Regions from separate parts of the Homo sapiens genome. Here region 1 is linked to region 2. Evidence: promoter capture Hi-C in human tissues and cell types (Jung and others, 2019). All regions are on one chromosome and are shown on one strand. Each heading gives the region's core, a stretch centred on a gene start or on the middle of the fragment in contact. The rest is flanking DNA. Distances are from core to core; before and after follow the strand shown.

Region 1 (3,914 bases), core at 292-2,791, 200 kb after region 2:
GGCAGGCTGCTGCTACCCTCAGCAGGCAAGGGCATGGCCAGCTGAGGTTGGCATGGGCAGTGGGTGCAAATCCACTTAACGTTATGAAGCAGAGGGACAAAAAGACTTCAGATTTGCTCTGGCCTGTTAGACACATTCTCACGACAAATCTGGCTGATATCATTATTGTTATTTATATACAGTCTTGCTCTGTCATCTAGACTAGAGTGCAGTGGCCTGATCATAGCTCACTGCCACCTCAAACTCCTGGGCTGAAATGATCTTCTGTGTCAGGATCTCGAGTAGCTGGGACTACAGGCATAAACTACTACACCCAGATAATTTAAAAAAATTTTTTCTGCCCAGGCTGGTCTTGAACTCCTGACCTCAAGCAATCCTCCCACCTTGGCCTCCCAAAGTGCTGGAATTACACGTGTGAGCCACGACACCCAGCCTTGACTGATATTATGATGCTCATTTGATAGATGGTGAAACAAAGGCTCAGAGATAGATAATGACTTAATCAAAGTCACACAGCAAGTCTGGCAATGCTGAGCCTCACCCCTAGTTCCTGCTCCCAACCCAAGCTTTCTCTTTTGCACCACGTGATAGGGCTAGGGTTTACAAACTATGGACTGCAAATCTAGCCACATCTAGCCTGCTGCCTCCTTTTGTAAATAAAGTTTTATTGGAACACAGTCACATTCATTCATTTACTCATTGTCTATGGCTGTTTTCACATTACAATGGAAGAGCTGAGTAGTTGCAACAGAGACCATATGGTTCAAAAAGCCTAAAGAACTTTTTGACACTTTTTACTAATTGATCCTTTAGAGAAAAAGCGTGCCATCCTTAGACCAGAGGATGAGTTCACACCAGGAATATCTCCACTTGTTTCTCTTTCTCACCCAGAAAGCTCTCTTAACCCAGGGTATACCAAGCTATCATTTCAGCCCCCTTTACTGTTCCAAAGGCCATGGAGAAGTAGTGCTCCTGGACAACTTAAAGGAGGAGAGGTGGGAAGCCCAATGGGTCAGGCTCCTTATTGGTTTCCAGCCCCTTTTGTGGCTGTGGAGATGTACCCTCCCCATGCAGGATGATGCTCCACTTCCTGCACCAGGAGTTGGAACAGGCAATGAGGAGGCAGGGTACCCCATTCCATCCCTATTCCGACCCTAGTCTTCAGGACTGCATTTTGGGCAGGGGGGTCTCAGGGCTGGTGATTAACGAATTGTCAGGAAGACAAAATTTACATATGGGAGGAAAAGGAAGGTATTGTGGGATATTGGGCCTCCCGAAGCCTCCAGTCTGACCCAGGGGGGAAGAATCTCTCTATGCCTTCTCAGAGAGGTTGATTAACTTGCCTAGGATCACACAGCTAGAATGAGATAAATCCACAATTGAACCCAGGTTTTCCTGACTTCTACTGTTTTTTTTCTAGGTTGTTCTTTTGAATTGGTGGATTTGAAACCAGGGAAAGGTTTTCTAACAGATTCCTAAGCACCTCCCCATCCTGCGTCCATGGCTCCGCGGTCAGTGCAGTGAGAATAGGAAACCCACGCAGAGCTGGCTTGTGCAGTGACCGTGTTGTCTTCCGCTGCATCTTAGCAAGCTGTTTTCCTTTTCCTGAGGCCTTTTCATTATGCTATCACTCCCTCAATTCTACTTGCACATGAAAGCATTCAGAACATTTTATCTATTTATGGTTATGAAATCAACAAAGCTCATGTAAAGAGGGTGCAGGCTGGCACCCACGCATTGAGACGGCCAGAGCTGGGTGAATGAGCTGAAAGCCAGGAAGGTGAGGGACATAGAACCATGGAGGGGGTGGGAGAGGGAGAGTAGAGCCCAGGTGGGAAAAGATGAAACTTTTGTGGGCAATGTCCTGAAGGCAGGGCTGAGAGAAGAGGATGCAAGGAATGCAGTGAGGAGCAAGTCAGAGCAGCCACATTCCAAGAGGGGAAAGAAACCTAATCAACTAAAGCCACTTTTCAAATGCAGAGCAGCGACCAATACTCTTGACCTGCCCTGGGGAGGCTGGAGGAGGCGGATTTTCCTCACATTCATTTTCAGAGTCCTCTCCACCACCACTCCCAGCTGGCAAATTCTGGCCCTTCTGGTCCTCCAGTGAGGTCCGGGGACCCCCTCAGTGCCCCCCAGCCCCTGTGCTTCCTCGTCACCGCACTCTGCACCCTGCATTGTCCCTGTGTGTTTACTTGGCTGTCTCCCCTACCAGCATCTACAACTGGTCTTCATGTTCCCAGCATCCAGCACAAGGCCTGGCACAGGGCAGGGGCTCAGGCATGTAAGTCATTCATGCAACAAACAGCTGAGGGCAGAGTTTGTGCCAGCCTCTGCAGTGATGTGATGGTGCCCACAGACAGCTGGTCTTGGCCTCATGGAACCTGCAGGCTGGTGAGAGAGCAAGGGGTCCATCCAGCCACTTCAGTGGGATACTGCTGTCAAGGAGGCATGCTGGGAGTTTGGGGAGAGCAAAAGGAGGGGTGACCCTGCCTGAGGAGTTGGCACCGGCCTCCCCAAGCAGGTGCATTTGAGTTGAGCTGCTGGTGGCAAGTCAGTGTTGACTGGGCCAGGCTGTGCTGGGTGGGTGGCTGGGTGGACAGAGGAGTGTGGCCTCATAAATGAGATTCAACACAGTGCCAGGTAGCCACAAAAGAAGCCACTGTAGCTGAGGTTGTGTTAACAGGGACATGCAGCAAAAGTGGAGAGAGGGCAGCCTCTGTCAGGGCCAGGAGGTTTGGCTCTAGGACTTATGCTATGGGTCCAAGCCTAGCCTTGAGCAGAGCAGCCAGTGAGGAGGAGCCAACTGCACCCAGGGCTGTGAGGCAGGGCCCAGGCCATCCCCCAGGCCTGCCTCTGGTAAGCCCTCCAGCCTGTCTGGCCTCATGCACCCCCTTGCCTCTCTTCCAGCTGCATAAGCCTTCTTCCAGTCCCTGGCCTGCCACCCTCCCGGCCGCCACAGTGCTTTTGCACATGCTGTTCTCTCTCCTGGGGTGCTGCTGCCTCTCTCCTCTGCCGAGTTCTTCCTAATTTCCCGTTAGTTCAGCCTAAATATCGTCTCCTCTGGAAAGCCTTCCCTGACATTACCGCTGAGGCCAAATCCTCAGTTACAGGTTTGCAGGCACCCCAGGCCTCTGTTGGCACTTGGTGAAATAGCGATTTAATCCTTTATTTTGGTGAGGAATTTATTGTCTCTTGTCCACTAGACTGTGGTCACCATGGCAGGGACTGTGACTGCTTTGCCCACTGTCAACTCCAGCGTAAAGTGCTTCATAAACATTTGTAAGAAATTTTTAAAAGATGGAAGGAATGGAGAGATGTTCCTCAGAGAAGAGGAGGCTTGAGGAGGTGGTGTGGCATTTGCAGATGTTTGAAGGACCATCAAGAGGCAGTGGGAGAGACACGGTCCACGTGGAAAGGCCAGTGGGAGGGGATGTACCTGAGGCAGGAGAGGGTGGCGGGGGAGGAGAATCTGGGCTGAGTCCTGCCTCCTCCACAGACTGCCTTTGTGACATCGGTCAGTTAAGTGACTTAACCTTTTGTGCCTCAGTTTACCGATTTGTTAAATACAGAAGTGGGGAGAATGATGGCACCCCTATCAAGGGACTGATGTTAGCATTAAAGGAGTTAATTAGTTAAAACACTCAGAAAATGCCTGATGCATAAAAGGAGCACAAGAAATGCTCACATGGCAGAATGTTGGTCATTATCTTAACTTTATGAAAAATATAATTTTGAACAAGGCTATGCAGAGACGGCAGGGGCTGGTTCAGGAGGCAGCACATGTCCTGGCACTGCAAGTGTAGAAATAGCCTGGGTACCCACCGGCAGCTTTGATCCAGGCCAGGTCTGAGAGCACCAGATGGAGTAAACCAGGCTAAGGCTGCAGCCTGGAGAAGTGGAGGGATGCACAT
Region 2 (3,407 bases), core at 568-3,067:
TCCTAGTAGTGGACACTATGACCCTTTATATTTCCCCCACTTAAAGGACTAGGAATGGCCCCAAACATGTGCCTTTCCAGGACAGCAAATGAAATATCTTGGTGGGATAAATAAGCACTTGCACCCACATTTATTTCCTATCCCTGAAACTTCTCACACAGGGTATGAGCAGGTATGAACCCACCAGGAGTAGGGCATCAGATACTCCCAGGCTGCATCTTCCAAAATGACAGGGCAAAGTTAACTCTGATCTGTTCCCAAGTGGAGCAGAGACTGGCCACATACACAACGGCTGTCCCACCAAATCTTGCCAATGTAAAAGATAAAGAGCTTAAGGGATAAAAACTCAAGCTATGAAAAAGTCAACTGGGTCCCTAGTCAGGCTTAAATTATGGTGACACATTTTTCTCGAAGAAAAGGCACCGGGATCTGCCCTGAGAATCAGACTACTCAAGCAATGACTACTACTGATTCAGTAAACCGTGTTTAGCCACTGTTTAATGAAGAGCTCTCACAGACCCCTCCCCAGGACCCCCTCAGCCAGAGTATGCCCCCCTGCAAAGTCACCAAGCTTATAAAAGAATGACACTGCCCTAGGGCACTGGCTTGGCATGTAAAGACTACGCAGAAGGGGACTTCATAAAACAAGCTTTCTTGCACATGCAAAAGGCTGGGGTTTCCAGTTGACAGATGTAAAATCGAGCCCAAAGAAAAACCCCAAGTTTGAGGGAGGAGAAAAGCACAGAGCTGCCACGCCTAACCTACCTAATATTGAAAGGCCAAAGTGATTCGGAAGGGGCCCCTCTCGTACCCACGTGTAACTGTGCCCATGAGTAGACCCATGCCAGACAAGACTAAAAGACCCCAGCCCGAGAAACGTCCAAGGGCCCCGTTACCTTCCGCTTGAGCACATTCATCGGGAGGGAACAGGAGGGCGGCCTTGGGGCGTCAGCCCCCACCTTTTCCCTCTTCCCTTGCTCTGACCGACGTCTGGAGAGGAAGTGGGGAAGTGGAGAAATCTTCCCCGCTTCATGATCCGGCTTGTGCCCGTCACTTCCCAATTTCCGCTGGGTGCCAGGCCCAGGAGACCAGGAGAAGGCGCGCCCCCGGAACACTCGCAAGGCTCTCAGGCGCGTCCCCGGCCCCGTAGCTTGGCTCGCAGTGGCCGCCGCACCCACCCAGAGCCGCTTCCTCCTACTTGGTGGACGGTTCCTGGACCGCAGGGGAGGAGGGTGGCTCTACCCAACGCGCCCCCAACACCTCCGACCTGCTCCCGCGCACTTCCCCACCCCTCCCAACCGCGCAGTGACCGACCCCCGGGTAAGGGGCGTGGCTAACAGGCAGAGTGCCCCGAGCGCGCCCCCGCCCCCGAGCGCGCCTCCGCGTTACCTTTCACCACGTCACACTCGATGACGCGTCCGCGGCGCTCGAAGAGGCTGCGCAGTTCCTGGCTCGTGCATGCAGCCGACACATTGCCCACGAAAATCTTCCAAGTATTAAGAGGCCTTGGGCGCGACATCTCCACCACGAGCGCGCGCCCCGGCCGCAGCTCGTGGCCGTGCAGGGCTTCGATGGCGCGCAGCGCGCCCGCGTTCTCGCGCATGTGCACGAAGGCGAACTGTTTCATGACGGCGCAGCTCATGACCGTGCCGTAGGGCGCAAAGAGGGCTGCCAGCTCCTCCGGAGTCGTATCCGCCCCGTCGACGTTGCCCACGAATATCTTCATTTTGTCGCCGCAGCCACCTTCCTGGAGAGCCCGGACCTCTCCTCCAGCGACAGGCAAGACGTCCGAACGACCGGCAGTCCTCCTCAGGAATGGCTGGCGACCGAGAACCCCGCCGCGCAGGCGCCCTGGCCTAGCCAATGGGGACTCGCATCCCGCGCGTCCAGCGACCAATCAGAAACGCTGAGGGAAGATGTGCTCAGGCACAGCCAATCCCAGAGGGCCTAGAGCCCGCTCGTTAGCTGAGGGGGTGGGAAAGGGACGACCAACCGCCACAGCCCGTGGCGGGAGAGGGGGTTGGGAAGAAGAGGGAGGGCTGAAGAGAGGAGAACGCGCGCGAGCGGCGCCGGCGGCAGAGAGGCCTAGTCTGTAAGGCGGTCTCTGGCCCGGGTGGGGCTGGGACCGGCGGGCTCCCAGGAAAACTTTGTACAATTGGAAGTCAGGGCTCCTCCCATTCTGGAAGCCCTGTCCAAACCCGCGCCTGGGGGTTGCCGCGTGAGTGTACGGGGGAAGGCCGGGCCTGGCGGGAGAAACCAGGACAGGCGCCTTGAGTCGGCAAACGGCTCCCAGGACTGTGCTGAGCACCGCGAGGGGACCTGAGGCAGGCCCCGGAGAAGCCCTCGTGCCATTAATTGATTCTTTGGAAACATTCCCTGGGGTTGCTGAGGTCCTGGCAGCCGGTGAAAAATCAAAGGCCTCTGCCCTGATGGAATTCCCAGTCAAGAAATAATGGAATGACGTTATTGTATGTTGAAGGTTTTCATAATAAACAGTTTAATAAACGAGAAAATTAATTCTGCAGGAAGCAAAAGTTGAGCCTTAAAAAAAATTTTAGTCCGGGAGCGGTGGCTCACGCCTGTAATTCCAGCACTTTGGGAGACCAAGGCAAGCAGATCACCGGAGGTCAGGAGTTCAGGACCAGCCTGGCCAAAATGGTGAAACCCCGTCTCTACTAAAAATACAAAATTAGCCGGGTGTGGTGGTGCGCGCCTGTAATCCCAGCTACTTGGGAGGCTGAGGCAGGAGAATCACTTGAACCCGGAAGGCGGAGGTTGCAGTGAGCCAAGATCACGCCACTGCACTCCAGCATGGGCGACAGTGAGATTCCGTCTCAAAAATTTTTTTAAACAGATTTGAGTATGTAAATAAGATTGTTGCATGGCAGACAACATCAAAAACATAGACATGTGACAAACTCAGGGAAATATTTGCCTACGTGTTCAGTCAACAAATAGCACCTACCATGTGGACACCACCAAGAATATAGCAGTGAACAAAAAAAAATGACAGAAATCCCAACCTTCTTGGATCTTATGGTGGGGAGAAACAGGCAAGAAATAAGTAAAACATAAGCGTGTTAGATGGTGATGAGGACTTGGAGTAATCAAGGGAACTAAGCCATCCTCTGAGGGAAGATCATGCCGGCCAGAAAGTACAAGTCAAAGAGTGCTGGGGCAGAAGCAAATCTGGTTCAAGGAAGAGTCAAGAGCCAGTATGGGCCAGGCCCGGTGGCTCACGCCTGTAATCCCAGCACTTTGGGAGGCTGAGGCGGGCGGATCACCTGAGGTCAAGAGTTCGAGACCAGTCTGACCAACATGGTAAAACCCTGTCTCTACTAAAACTACAAAACATTAGCTTTGCGCAGTGGCAGTATCATAGCCAATGAGGTTTATCCGAGGCGCAA

The links. Contacts are between HindIII fragments. The study calls those that stand out against the background at their distance.
Region 1: a fragment that was not itself captured here is called in contact with the fragment with the promoter of RBM14 in region 2 in 6 of the 25 tissues and cell types used here (adrenal gland, dorsolateral prefrontal cortex, liver and 3 more).

Annotation. Positions count from the first base shown.
Region 1 is chr11:66,412,361-66,416,274 of GRCh38, reverse strand. It overlaps a transcript of NPAS4 not described here. Among named protein-coding and RNA genes, the nearest start is that of NPAS4, 6.7 kb to the left of the region's middle. RefSeq lists enhancers at 1,672-2,190, 2,191-2,709. The HindIII fragment of the contact is 7,963 bases long and covers 1-3,914 here.
Region 2 is chr11:66,615,040-66,618,446 of GRCh38, reverse strand. RBM14 (RNA binding motif protein 14) reads right to left here and starts at 1,817. Exons shown (of 3, transcript NM_006328.4): 1 at 1,390-1,817. The coding sequence starts at 1,726. RBM14-RBM4 (RBM14-RBM4 readthrough) reads right to left here and starts at 1,817. Exons shown (of 2, transcript NM_001198846.2): 1 at 1,390-1,817. The coding sequence starts at 1,726. It also overlaps the pseudogene RNU4-39P. RefSeq lists enhancers at 1,572-1,801, 934-1,867, 2,232-2,341. The HindIII fragment of the contact is 10,275 bases long and covers 1-3,407 here.